Regions from separate parts of the Homo sapiens genome. Here all the other regions are linked to region 1. Evidence: promoter capture Hi-C in 16 types of primary human blood cells and fetal thymus (Javierre and others, 2016). All regions are on one chromosome and are shown on one strand. Each heading gives the region's core, a stretch centred on a gene start or on the middle of the fragment in contact. The rest is flanking DNA. Distances are from core to core; before and after follow the strand shown. Region 1 holds the start of OR2B2 (olfactory receptor family 2 subfamily B member 2). Region 2 has its middle 11 kb from the start of H2BC11. Region 3 has its middle 4.4 kb from the start of TRV-CAC6-1. Region 4 holds the start of PRSS16 (serine protease 16). Region 5 holds the start of POM121L2 (POM121 transmembrane nucleoporin like 2).

Region 1 (2,625 bases), core at 63-2,562:
ACAAGCTTGATTTAAAGCATCCACCTGCCTGTTAGTCACTGAGTAGCCATCTCGGTTATCAGATCGTCAGAACACAGAGGGGTGAGTACACTAGAATAAGGTGTTTTGAAGAGAAAAAAAGAGAGGGACACCACATTCACATAACATGTATTACAATAAATGGGGGTCTGGAGCTGTTATACTTGCTGCATTTTATTAATTATTGTTCTTAATCTCTTACTGTGCCTAATTTATAAATTAAACGTTATAGTTGTGTATGTATTAAAAAACATAGTATATATAGGGTTTGGTACTACCCACAGTTTCAGGTTTCTATCCACTGGTGGTCTTGGAATGTATCCCCCATGGATAAAGGGGGAACCACTGTATCATCTTCATTTTACAAATGAGAATTGTGGAGATCAAAGGGTTAGAAGCATTCCAATATAATGAATGTAACTAATTAGAGAGGGTAGGGATATGAGACCAGCCTGTCACCTTCAAATATCATATTACTAAGGAATCTATACAAATTCTATGAGCTTCTAGAACGAAAAGGATATGTCTCCTTAAATTGTGTCTGATAACTTACTAGATACTGTCTACATGGCTTTTTTGAGGGAAGGGGAATAATGGGAGGTGGCTTTAACTAATGTTAACTGATTTCTACAATCAGGGAATCTCGCTGGCCTTGAAGAGAAATTAGAATGAATTCAAATGACAGGAAACTGTATCTACATCTACCTCACAGTAGATATCTAGGTAGGAAGAATGAGAAAAATACATTTACAAACAGTAAAATATCAAAGGATACATTATGTGAATTTGGAAACTGAAAATATGGCTTAAGATTTTTGAAATTAGGCTGGGCACAGTGGCTCACGCCTGTAATCCCAGCACTTTGGGAGGCTGAGGTGGGCAGATCACCTGAGGTTGGGGTTTGAGACCAACCTGACCAACGTGGAGAAACCCCATCGCTACTAAAAATACAAAATTAGTCGGGGTGGTGGCACATGCCTGTGATCCCACCTACTGGGGAGGCTGAGGCAGGAGAATTGCTTGAACCTGGGAGGCGGAGGTTGCGGTGAGCCGAGATGGCGCCATTGCACTCCAGCCTGGGCAAAAGAGTGAAACTCTGCCTCAAAAAAAAAAAAAAAAAAAAAAAAAAAGATTCTTGAAATTCGATTCAATTTGCTAATATGCTGTTACAGATATATAAACACTTTTTAAATACTTGGATGGATAAATATTTATATTTTTATCAATACTTTTTTCACATTATTAATTGGATCAGTCTGTAATTTTATGTAAATTGATAGCAAAATGATTATAGCTGACAAAATCAGGAAGTGTGTTGTTAACTTCCTGACTTCTTATATTTCAGAGAACGAAGAGTTGAACCATTTAACATGAATTGGGTAAATAAGAGTGTCCCACAGGAGTTCATTCTGTTAGTTTTCTCAGATCAACCATGGCTAGAGATTCCACCCTTTGTGATGTTTCTGTTTTCCTATATCTTGACAATCTTTGGCAATCTGACAATAATTCTTGTGTCACATGTGGATTTCAAACTCCACACCCCTATGTACTTTTTTCTTAGCAATCTCTCACTCCTGGACCTTTGCTATACCACAAGTACAGTTCCACAAATGCTGGTAAACATATGCAACACCAGGAAAGTAATCAGTTATGGTGGCTGTGTGGCCCAGCTTTTCATTTTCCTGGCCTTGGGTTCCACAGAATGTCTTCTCCTGGCCGTCATGTGCTTTGATAGGTTTGTAGCTATTTGTCGGCCTCTCCATTACTCAATTATCATGCACCAGAGGCTCTGCTTCCAGTTGGCAGCTGCATCCTGGATTAGTGGCTTTAGCAATTCAGTATTACAGTCCACCTGGACACTTAAGATGCCACTGTGTGGTCACAAAGAAGTGGATCACTTCTTCTGTGAAGTCCCTGCTCTGCTCAAGTTGTCCTGTGTTGACACAACAGCAAATGAGGCTGAACTATTCTTCATCAGTGTGCTATTCCTTCTAATACCCGTGACACTCATCCTTATATCGTATGCTTTTATTGTCCAAGCAGTGTTGAGAATCCAGTCTGCTGAAGGTCAACGAAAGGCATTTGGGACATGTGGCTCCCATCTAATTGTGGTGTCACTTTTTTATGGTACAGCTATCTCCATGTACCTGCAACCACCTTCACCCAGCTCCAAAGACCGGGGAAAGATGGTTTCTCTCTTCTGTGGAATCATTGCACCCATGCTGAATCCCCTTATATATACACTTAGGAACAAAGAGGTAAAGGAAGCCTTTAAAAGGTTGGTTGCAAAGAGTCTTCTTAATCAAGAAATAAGAAATATGCAAATGATAAGCTTTGCTAAAGACACAGTGCTTACTTACCTTACTAACTTCTCCGCAAGTTGTCCTATTTTTGTCATTACTATAGAAAACTATTGTAATCTCCCTCAAAGAAAATTTCCTTGACAAAAAGCTATATTTGTTTCTGTTGCCTAAACATTTTCATTGAACAAGCCCCCAGAATTGGCCTTCCAATGCACCAAAAACTGTAATCACAACATTTTCAAGGGTTGTCACACTTTACATCAATGTTTGTACAATTCAGTGTAAACTAGACCTTTCTGATCCA
Region 2 (2,625 bases), core at 56-2,555, 790 kb after region 1:
TGTGTGCTACTACAATGACTAATTTATTTTCTTAGAGACGAGGTCTCGCTATGTTTCCTAGGCTAATCTCAAATTCCTGGCCTGAAGTGGTCCTCCTGCTTGGGCCTCCTGAGTCGCTGGGATTACAATACTGTCTAGTATGAAGGAAGTTTGTCTTGATATGTTTCCTGCTCAAAACAAAATGCAACTTGTCATTTTCAAACTCTAAAATTCTTCTGGTGTGTTTTAAAATGTCTATACTGTAATAGCAAATAAATTAACTTTTATGACAGGGAATTGTTGCTTTGTCATTCAACTTACTTGTCTGGTAAGCAAAATGCCTTGGGTTCAAGTCCTCACAGAATTTTGTTTTTGCATTGTGTAGCCTTCCCTGATACTCATTTCTTTCCATAAAACTGTCACCCCTAGATAAAGCCTCATTTGCTTCATCTTGTAGGTTTCACACCTAACCCATAAGCATTTGGATAGTTGGGAGAAGCTATAATGGTATATCATTTATTTTATAATAGTATGTAAGATTGATAATGGGACAAGTCAATAGCTTCCACATTGTGTTTAGGCTTTCCAGCAAAATTGGATTTAAATATCATATTTAAATATTTATATTTATAAACTTAAAAAATCAATTTTATGTAAAAAAGTTATATTGGAGTTTATCAAACTAATATACATATATATTTTCTTTTTGAGGCAGGGTCTGGCTCTGTTGCTCAGGCTGGAGTGCAATGATGCATTCTTGGCTCACTGAAATCTCTGCCTCCCAGGCTCAAGTGATCCTCCCACCTCAGCCTCCCAAGTACCTGGGACTATACCTGGCCAATTTTTTTTTCTTTTTTTTTTTTTTTTTGGTAAAGACAGGGTTTTTCCATGTTGTTGAGGCTGGTTTCGAACTCAAACTCAGGTGATCTGCCCATCTCAGCCTCCCAAATGCTGGGAATATAGACGTGAGCCACGATGCCAGGCACAAACTCATTTATTTTAATTTACTTTTAAATTAATCATGTTACAAAGTCAATACTTTAAAGTTTATAGATTTGAATTCTAAAACTTCTTTGTTTTATTGAGATTTATACATACATGGTAAAATATTTGGTTAACTCACCATGTTCTGTAAATGATGATGTCATTAGGACTAAAGTGTTCATCTGTACTTTTAAGAATTAAAAGAAGACATTGTTTTAGAAGACAATTTCAGGAAATGTTAATAATTTAAAATGTAATGGCCTTGGTTACTTTTCAGTTGCTTTTAGCTTATCTTTTTCCCTATTATGAATATAAGTTTTATGAATATTTTTGTGTATGTTTTTTGGTGTACATATGTGCCCATTTCTTTTGTTGAGACGGATTCTCAGTTTGTCATCCAGGCTGGAGTGCAGTGGCACAATCTCGGCTTACTGCAACCTCCGCCTCACAGGTTCAAGTGATTCTCCTGCCTCAGCCTCCCGAGTAGCTGGGACTGCAGGTGGGTGCCACCATGCCCGGTTAATTTTTTGTATTTTTAGTAGAGATAGGGTTTCACTATGTTAGCCAGGATTGTCTTGATCTCCTGACCTTGTGATCCACCCGCCTCGGCCTCCCAAAGTGCTGGGATTACAGGCATAAGCTACTGCGCCCAGCCTGTGCTCATTTCTTTTGAGCATATAATAGGAATGGAATTAACAGTTTTTAAGGTAACCATATATTTAGGTTTAGTAAACACTGACAAATATTTTTCTAAAATGTATAAACCAATTCAAACTCCTATAATATAAGATGATTTTAATTGCTTCAAATTTTTGCCTTTATCTTGTTAGGCTTTAAGTTTTGCCTTTCTGAATAGGATGTGTTAGTGATATCTCACTGTTGCTTTCATTTTCAGTTTCCTGATGAGTCATAATATTGTGTACCTATTCATATGCTTCATATACATTGAATGTCATTTAGTGGAAGAGAATGTTCATGTCTTTGCCCATTTTTAAATTATTTGTACTTATCGATTTGTAACAATTTTTTCCATATGGACTTTTCCATATGGACATATCATTGACCTAACTAACGTAATTTGTTGAAAAGACAACCCTTGCACTGCAGTGTTACCTTTCTCATGAATCAGGTGACTACACACATGTTTCTGGCTCAATAGCAATCATTCTCATTACCATAGTTTAAGATAGGGGTTGGCAACTTATAGTGTAAGTTCTCCAACTGTGTTCTTCTTTATAATTGGCTTTTCATTTTCATAGAAGTGTTAGAATCAGGAAGAAATACTTCCTAACTCAGAGGTCAACAAACTATGGCCCACAGACCAAATATGACCCACCACCTGATTTTCAAAAAAAGTGTTATTGGAACACAACCACATTCACTTATTTGTGTATTATCTATGTCTACTTTCCCACCAGAACAGCAAAGTTGAGTTGTTGTGACAGAGACCTTATTGTCTGCACAGCCTAAAATATTTACTATCTGGCTTCTTAAAATATTGGTTAACTTAATTCGTTCCATAGGGCAACATCATCTTGATACTAGAACTGGACAAATATAAACAAAGAAACTTATTGACCAATATCCTTCATGAACAGAGATACAAAGGTTCTAAACAAAATTTTAGAAAATTCAAATTCAGTAATATGTAAAAAGAATAAT
Region 3 (2,625 bases), core at 126-2,625, 710 kb after region 1:
TGCCTAAAAATTGGAAAACTGGGCAAATGTAAAATGTAAAATACATTTGAAAATATGTCCTCAAGGCTGGGCATGGTGGCTTACACCTATAATCCCAGCATGCTTTGGAAGTCGAGGCCGGCAGATCGTTTGAGCTCAGGAGTTTAACACCAGCCTGGGCCACATGGTGAAACCCTATCTCTACAAAAAATTAGCTGAGTGTGGTGGAGCACTCCTGTAGTGCCAGCTACTTGGGAGGCTGAGGAGGAAAGAGCACTTAAACCTGGGAGATGGAGGTTGCAGTGAGCCAAGATCACTCCACTGCACTCCAGCCTGGGTGACAGAATAAGACCCTATCTGGAAAAAAAAAAAAAAAAAAAAAAGGAAGAAAAGAAAAAAAGAAAAAGTCTTCATATTTAAAGAATTAGTGAAAATAGAATGAGACATCAGACTACCTTAAATCTCTCTTTTTGAAAGGTGTTGTCAGGAAGTGAATATTTTCATGTTCTGCATGGTTTGGCTTTCTGGGCAAGGGAAATTGACACATTAGTGAATGTTCTGGTTTCCCTAGACCAATTTGCTTCTCACATTTCAAAAGTGTTATCTCATTTGAAGGATAATACAATTTCTCTCTCCTGGAACCATGGAGACATTTTAAGGCTTATAAACACGGAGATGCTTATCTTATCTTCCACTCTGGAGACATTTATTTACATCCCAAGAGTATGAATCCTGAGACTTTTCCTCTCTCTTTTTATAAGAACTTGTTTAAGGCCAGGCTAGGTGGCTCGCGCCTGTAATGCCAGCACTCTGGGAGGGCGAGGCGGGCTGATAACCTGCGGTTAGGAGTTCGAGACCAGCCTGGCCAACATGGATAAACCCCGTCTCTGCTAAATATACAAAAATTAGCTGGGCATGGTGGCAGACACCTTTAATCCCAGCTCCTCGGGAGGCTGAGCAGGAGAATCGCTTGAACCCAGGAAATGGAGGTTGCAGCAAGCCGAGATCTTTCCATTGCACTCCAGCCTGGGCAACACGAGCGAAACTCTGTCTCAAAAAAATAAAAATAGGCCAGGCGCGGTGGGTCACGCCTGTAATCCGAGCACTTTGGGAGGCCGAGGCGGCCGGATCACGAGGTCAGGAGATGGAGACCATTCTGGCTAACATGGTGAAACCCCTTCTCTAATAAAAATACAAAAAAATTAGCCGGGCTTGGTGGTGGGCGCCTGTAGTCCCAGCTACTTGGGAGGCTGAGGTAGGAGAATGGCGTGAACCCAGGAGGCGGAGCTTGCAGCGAGCCAAGATCGCGCCACTGCACTCCAGCCTGAGTGACAGAGAGAGACTCCGTCTCAAAAAAATAAATAAATAAATAAAGGCTGACAAAGACAGCACAAAAAAGAAAACTGCAGACCAATACAACTCATCAACACAGATACAACAATTTTTAACACAATATTATCAAATAGAATACAGTAATAGAGAAAAAGAATTATACACTATGACTGTTATTGGCTGAATTGTGTTCTCCCAAAATGTATATTCTGAAGTCCTAACTCCCAGTTCCTTAGAATGTGACTATATGTGGAGATAAGATCTTTAAAGAAGTTATTAAAGTAAAATGAGGGAATATGGATGAGCTCTAATACAATATTACTGGTGTCTTTATAAGAAGAGATTAGGGGCCGGGCGCAGTGGCTCATGCCTGTAATCCTAGCGCTTTGGAAGGCCGAGGCGGGCAGACTACCTGAGGTCAGTAGTTCGAGACCAGCCTGGCCAAAATGGCGAAACTCTGTCTTTACTTTAAAAAAAAAATACAAGATTCAGCCAGGCCTGACAAAATTAGCACACGCCTGTAATCCCAGCTACTCGAGAGGCTGAGACAGGAGGTAGGAGGCTGAGCGGGAAGCAGAGGTTGCAGTGAGCCGAGATTGCACCACTGCACTCCAGCCTGGGCGACAGAGCGACACTCGGTCTCCAAAAAAAAAAAGAGATTAGGACACAGGCAACACGCAGACTGAGTGGTTAATCATGGGAGGACACAACGAGAAGGCAGCCTTCTGCAAGTCAAGGAGAGCTACCTCAAAAGGAATCAAACCGGCTGACACCTTGCTCTTGGATTTCTAGGCTCAGCTGCGAGAAAATACATTTCCATTGTTTAAGTCCACCCATCTATGGTAGCCCTAGCAAACCAAGATAATCACCAAGTAGAATGCAGGGGTGGTTCATGGCCAGGCGTTGTTGCTCACACTTGTAATCCCAGCACTTTCAGAGGTCTGGGAGGCCAAGGCAGGAGTATAACTTGAGGTCAGGAGTTCTATGACCAGCCTGGCCCACGCTGGGAAACCCTGTTTCTACTAAAAATGCAAAACATTAGCCGGGCATGGTGGCATGTGCCTGTAATTCCAGCTACTCTGGAGGCTGAGGTACGAGAATCACTTCAACCTGGGAAGCTGAGGTTGCAGTGAGCAAAGATCTCGCCTTTGAACTCCAGCCTGGATGACAGAGCAAGACTCCGTCTAAAAAAAAAAAAAAAAAAGAATGCTAGGGTTGTTCAACATTTGAAAATTAGTCAACGTAATTAATGTACCATAGTCACACCAAAGGAAGAAAATCACATTATTATATTAATTGATGAGGAGAAAAATT
Region 4 (2,625 bases), core at 32-2,531, 660 kb after region 1:
CATCCCAACTCCTTTCCCCCAACATTGCCTCTTACCTCTCATCACTGAGCCAGGCCCAAGGCTGCCCTCACCCCCTAGATGCAGGAATATGGGTCCATCCTGGCCAACCCAATGTTGGTCATTCACCCAGTAACGCTGAGAGGTGGGATGGGGAAGAAGAAATGGCACTGTGAGAGTCCTGACTTATTCTCAATTCCTCATTTGTTCCAGTCTCTCTTCCTAATGGATCTTTCCTTATGTACTTAACAGTGTCTGAAATGAGCTTGTTTATTTACTTGCTCACTTTTCCCCTGTTCATCTCCTCATCTAGAATGCAAAATATACAAAAGCAAATTTTTGACCTGGTTTTTCACTCTTATATCCCCAGAACTGAGGGAGTGGCTCTCACATTGAAGGAACTTGCTATTTCTTGAAGTAATAATTGTAAAATAAGAAATAAATGCAGATGGATTTAGGAATAAGATCCAAGTGGGATGATATTTGGAGACTAAATACAGAGGAAGCACTGAAAAATGGCGAATTTGTTCCTTCTTTCGATAGATATCTTTGAGTGCCTGTTGTGAGCTAGGTCTGATTCCAAAGCTGGTTCAAATTTCTGCTACCTACTGAGACCTGGTGGTAGGTTTTGTGTCCAGTCTGGACAGGGACAAGGGGGTAGGGAGGAGCAGTGAATGTGAATGACAGAGAGAAAGAAATGGTGAAGGGCAAGATCTGAGGGACAAAACGAGTGGGACCCCGAGGAGAGGAGAGAGTAAGGCCAAATCTACAAAGGGCAGGAAAAGGGATACTGACAGCAAGCATAACATGAGATTCAAGCAGAGGGATGGGGAGAACTGAGGTGTGGAGAGAGAAAAAAGTGCAGACTGAGGAAGAGATGAGGGAGACTGAGGAGAGGGCAGGATGGTTAGTGGACTCCCCGTCTCCCGGCCTCACCTGTAGGAAGGATCGTCTGTCGGACACGTTGAAGGGGTCCAGCAGTTGCTCCAGCCACCCCACTTTTGGGAGGGCTGCAGCACCTGGCCCCAGGCTCAGGCCCAGGCCCTGGGCAGAGCTCTCCTGAAACTGCTGAATGTGCTCACCCAGGCGCCTAAGAAGGGAGGCTGTGGGACATGGAGGGAAGGAAGTCAGGCTGGCCCCCTTAGGATGCCCTGCTTGACCCTCAGCCTCCTCTTACCTGGAGCCAAGAGTCCCCAGAGGGAAACCAAGAGCAGAGGGCCCAGCCACTGGGCAAGCCAGACGGCCATGGTGTTCGGGACTCTGTTCTCCCCCAGGAGGACCTTTATCTTATCCTCAGCAGCCGGGCCTTAAATCCATCACCTTTCAGCAGAGGCTCAGGTTTCTTTCCTTTCCTGGCAGGTCAAGCGTCTGTAGGAACTGCTAAAGCGGGGCAGGGACGCCAGAGTCTGTACACAGAGGCTGCTGATGCAGCATCGGAACTCCCAGTTTCTTCTCTCTGGGCCTCTCAGTCTGTTCTTCCCTCAGCTCTCAGTAGCCCTCGCTGTCTCAGTCTCCTCCTCTCCGCTCTTCGGTCTACCTTCTCTTTATCTCAGATTCCTCCTTTGCATGCCTTATTGTCCTTCAACCTCTGTCTCTCCCCACCTCAGCACCTCCTCTGGAACCCCAGTTGCCCACTTATTCTCAGTCTTTTCTTTCTGCCCCTCAGCATATCTTCAGTACCCCTCAGTTGTTCCCACACTCAGTCTTTCCGTCTCTTTTTTCTCAGTCCCCCATCTCTTTTTCAGTCTTTCTCTCCATACTCATCTCTTTGTCCCCCAATCTCACCTTGTCTATTTTCCAGCCCCCTCACTTTCTGCTCTGCTTCACTGTCCCGAGCTTCTCTGACCCACAATCTCACACTGTCCATAGACTCCTTACAGTTCTTTGAACATACCAGGCTTGCTTCTGCCTTAGGGTTCTTATTCTTGTTGTTCCCACCCTATGGATTGTGATTTCCCTATATACCCACGTGGTTTGCTCCCTCACTTCAACTGGATCTTTATTCAAAGGTCATTCATTCAGAAAGGTCTTCCATGGTCAGCTTTTTAAAAATTGCCAAACCTATGGCCCTCTTCTATTCCTTTTCAAACTTTATTCCTAATTCTTTTTCATGGGACTTATCACTATGAGAAATATTGTACATTTAAAAAGTTATTCCCATAAATTTAAAAAATATATCCAGAATCTGATGACTTCTCACTACCTTCAGTGCTACCACTGCTGAGCCACCATCATCTCTGACTTGGGATATCATGGAAGGCTTTTAGCTGGTCACCCTGTTTCTGCCTCATGATTTATTCTACACTCAGCAGACAGAGAGACAGAATTAAATATTAGCCCAATCATTCACAATCATTCACTCCCTGGTTTAGAACACTTCCCTGATGCCCCATCTTACTCAAAGTAAATCTAAAGTTTTGAAAACAGTTTTTAAAACTCTGTATGACCTGGCCCCCTGTTGTATATACTGTCATGATTTCATCTCCTACCCCTCCTGGGTTCACTGCTCCAACTGCATTGGACTATTTCATATTTCACAAGACTCACTCCTTCCTTAGAATTTTTGCTCTCCTTAGGATGCTTTTCCTCCAAATATCTGCAAGTCTTATTTTATCACTTCCTATAGTT
Region 5 (2,625 bases), core at 90-2,589, 600 kb after region 1:
GGTGGTTGAATTGTATTGTAGGACTGTGTTTTAGCTTTGTAAGAAATTGCCATACTGTCCTCCAAAGTGGCTGTACCATTTTGCATTCTCATCAGTAATGAATGAGAGTACCTGTTACTCCACCTCCTCCTTAGCATGTGGTGTTTTGAATTTTAGCCAATTGAATGGTGTGTAGTAATATCTTACTGATGTTTAATTTGCAATTATGGTATCTTACTGATGTTTAAATTGCAATCAGAAGTATTTACTGATGTTTAGTTATATATAGCTAAATATTGACATATAGCATATGTCAATGATGTTTGGCATCTTTTTATACTGTTTACCATCTGCATATCTTCTTTGGCGGGGTTTCTGTTTAAATATTTTGCCCATTAATTTTTTACCTTATTATGAGTTTTAACATTCTATGTATATTTTGTATACCAGTGCTTCAGCAGATACATACGTATTATGCAAATATTTTCTCCAGTCTGTGGCGTGTCTTTTCATTCTCTTAACAGTGTCTTTCACAGAGCAGAAGAGAACAGGAGGTGGCCTGAGCAAGGGACTGAGCCAAGTGCTTGTGGAGGGCTCAGGTTCTGGGCCGTAAGATGCGATTTCCCATTCGCCCACTCCGGATCTCTGAGGCCACTCCTGACGGCAATCTGCATGAGTTCTCCAAGTGCGAATAGGAAGGAAACCTGGATTCGGCCGCTGGGAGACACAGGTGGATCTCAAAGGTGGCTGTGCGGCAAATGACTGACACCTACTGGCGGCGTCACGATCTGCAAAAAAAGAGAAACGCGGAAATCCTCAATCAGCTGCTTTCCCGACTGCTAGTGCCACAAATGCCATCCGGGCGGCACAGCCACCGGTCCAGATCTCCAGTCCTGAGCACCTGCGAAAGCCGCCCGCACTCACTCTACGGGGTGCGGATAGTGCTCCCCACTCAGACTCCGGGGATCCCGCGGGCCGACAGATCTGCGCCGGGGCCCTGAGCCGCCTGAGCCTGTACCTTCGAGGCCAGTAATAGTCGGAGCCTGGAAACTGTGCACCCACTCGATTCCAGCTCTGCGCCACTTGGTGAATCCGGACCACAGGGTCCCAGACAGCCGCTGCCGACGCCAGGGGCGAGGCGCAGTGAGCTTCCTCTCGAGTTCCTCTCCCCGCGCCAAGTACTGCAACTCGCTGCGGAGACAGCAGAGGTCTGACCGCCCCGCTGAGGTCTCAGAACAGCAAAGCAAGTTACTGGGACTGCCGAAGTCCCGCGTGTCCCCCGTTCCCGCGGGTGCCGGGCCTGGAGAGTGCTAAGCACCCTGAGACTCGCGCTTTCCTAGCGCGTGAATCCCAACCGTCAACCGAACACTGCGCTCTTCGACTCTGTCCGATTCTGCAGACGTCCGAAACCTCGGAAGCCAAAACCGTGCTTGAACTCACTGCCCGCGCCTCATCTCTCCTCATGGGCAGTTTCCTGAGCAAACTGGAACTTTCGCCCTCGTCCCCAGCCCAGGTGCGCACCGACTTGCCCGAGAGGCCCACGAAACGCCGGCCACCTCAGCCCCTTCACCAAGTTCATCGGGTTCAGTTCGTCCACCGCGCCCACCCTGCCCCACGGTATAGACCTGTGAGGAGGCGGCCAAACCTGGATCCTGCCAATCCAACCACGTGGCTGGCCAACGAGGCCTGGAGGCGCTTTCCCATGAAGAAGTCCCAGAATTCCCCCCTGGGGCCTCTCCCTTCAGACTGGTGGGAAAGTTACTTAAAGCGGACTATTTGGTCTCTTCGACATCCCAGGCCAATTTGGAGCCCAGTGACCATCAGGATCACTCCTCCTGACCAGAGAGTGCCCCCTTCCACTTCTCCTGAAGATGTAATTGCCCTTGCAGGACTCCCGCCCTCTGAGGAGCTCGCAGATCCATGTTCAAAGGAGACAGTGTTGAGGGCCCTCAGAGAGTGCAGAAAAGGGAAAGGGAGGTTGGAAGAACCACTATTCCCTGAGAGTCTGGACAGTAAGAGAAGGAGTCCAGAGACCAGACCATCGGCATTTAAGCCCCTGATGAAAAATGGAACCCTCACTTCTTTTGTGCCCAGGCCTGGGCCGCTGAAGAGAAGTCTCCACTCCTGGGGCTCAGATCACAGCTTGACTAAGAGGCCCAATTGCTCCTCCATGAGCTCCTTGGCCAGCATATACAGAGGTGGCACCCTCAGCTCCAAAAGGAATGCTATTGGCAGCTCTTACAGCTCTTGCAGAAATTTCTCAGACCCTTGGAAGAGAAGTGTTCCCAGTGTATCATTCGAGACACCAGAGTGGCCAATAAAAAAGGAAAAAAGTTGTCATCGGCCTTCCTCTCCAGTCCCACTGGTATCAGATTTTGAGTCCCTAGGAGGATCTGAAAGTTCTGGGCAGCAAAACCAGAAGATTCCACAGCTGCCGTCTAGCCCTGAGAACCTGGTGTCAGAGATCCCACCTCCCCAGCTTGGTTATGCAGTCTCTGATGAGAACTTGACTTTGGGGAAGAAAGCTGAGCTACAGGTAAGCAACAACGCAGGAGAAGATACAACTGAGGTCAACACAGACCCTTTCCCTGAGACTTGGCTTGCTATTCAGCCTTCCTTGTCTCTTGCTCTGCCTTCTTCAGAAAC

What was found. The method cuts DNA at HindIII sites, captures the fragments that hold promoters and counts their contacts. A CHiCAGO score of 5 or more calls a contact.
Region 2: a contact is called between a fragment that was not itself captured here and the fragment with the promoter of OR2B2 in region 1, in 1 of 17 cell types (monocytes). The highest score is 5.7, in monocytes.
Region 3: a fragment that was not itself captured here is called in contact with the fragment with the promoter of OR2B2 in region 1 in 1 of 17 cell types (total CD4 T cells); the score reaches 6.4 in total CD4 T cells.
Region 4: a contact is called between the fragment with the promoter of PRSS16 here and the fragment with the promoter of OR2B2 in region 1, in 14 of 17 cell types (total CD8 T cells, naive CD8 T cells, naive CD4 T cells and 11 more). The highest score is 14.1, in total CD8 T cells.
Region 5: the fragment with the promoter of POM121L2 here is called in contact with the fragment with the promoter of OR2B2 in region 1 in 3 of 17 cell types (naive CD8 T cells, non-activated CD4 T cells and activated CD4 T cells); the score reaches 7.3 in naive CD8 T cells.

What each region holds. Positions count from the first base shown.
Region 1 is chr6:27,911,083-27,913,707 of GRCh38, reverse strand. It overlaps OR2B2 (olfactory receptor family 2 subfamily B member 2), which reads left to right and starts at 1,312. Exons shown (of 1, transcript NM_033057.2): 1 at 1,312-2,523. The coding sequence starts at 1,389. The coding sequence ends at 2,462. The HindIII fragment of the contact is 2,345 bases long and covers 8-2,352 here.
Region 2 is chr6:27,120,303-27,122,927 of GRCh38, reverse strand. No RefSeq gene overlaps it. Among named protein-coding and RNA genes, the nearest start is that of H2BC11, 11 kb to the left of the region's middle. The HindIII fragment of the contact is 5,298 bases long and covers 1-2,625 here.
Region 3 is chr6:27,200,425-27,203,049 of GRCh38, reverse strand. No RefSeq gene overlaps it. Among named protein-coding and RNA genes, the nearest start is that of TRV-CAC6-1, 4.4 kb to the left of the region's middle. The HindIII fragment of the contact is 4,360 bases long and covers 1-2,625 here.
Region 4 is chr6:27,246,357-27,248,981 of GRCh38, reverse strand. It overlaps PRSS16 (serine protease 16), which reads right to left and starts at 1,281. Exons shown (of 12, transcript NM_005865.4): 1 at 1,175-1,281; 2 at 934-1,100; 3 at 36-135. The coding sequence starts at 1,244. The HindIII fragment of the contact is 3,507 bases long and covers 1-2,625 here.
Region 5 is chr6:27,310,987-27,313,611 of GRCh38, reverse strand. POM121L2 (POM121 transmembrane nucleoporin like 2) reads left to right here and starts at 1,339. Exons shown (of 1, transcript NM_033482.4): 1 at 1,339-2,625. The coding sequence starts at 1,442. LOC105375107 reads right to left here and starts at 1,443. Exons shown (of 3, transcript XM_011515048.2): 1 at 1,420-1,443; 2 at 998-1,289; 3 at 1-767. The coding sequence starts at 1,443. The coding sequence ends at 400. RefSeq lists a silencer at 988-1,282. The HindIII fragment of the contact is 14,547 bases long and covers 1-2,625 here.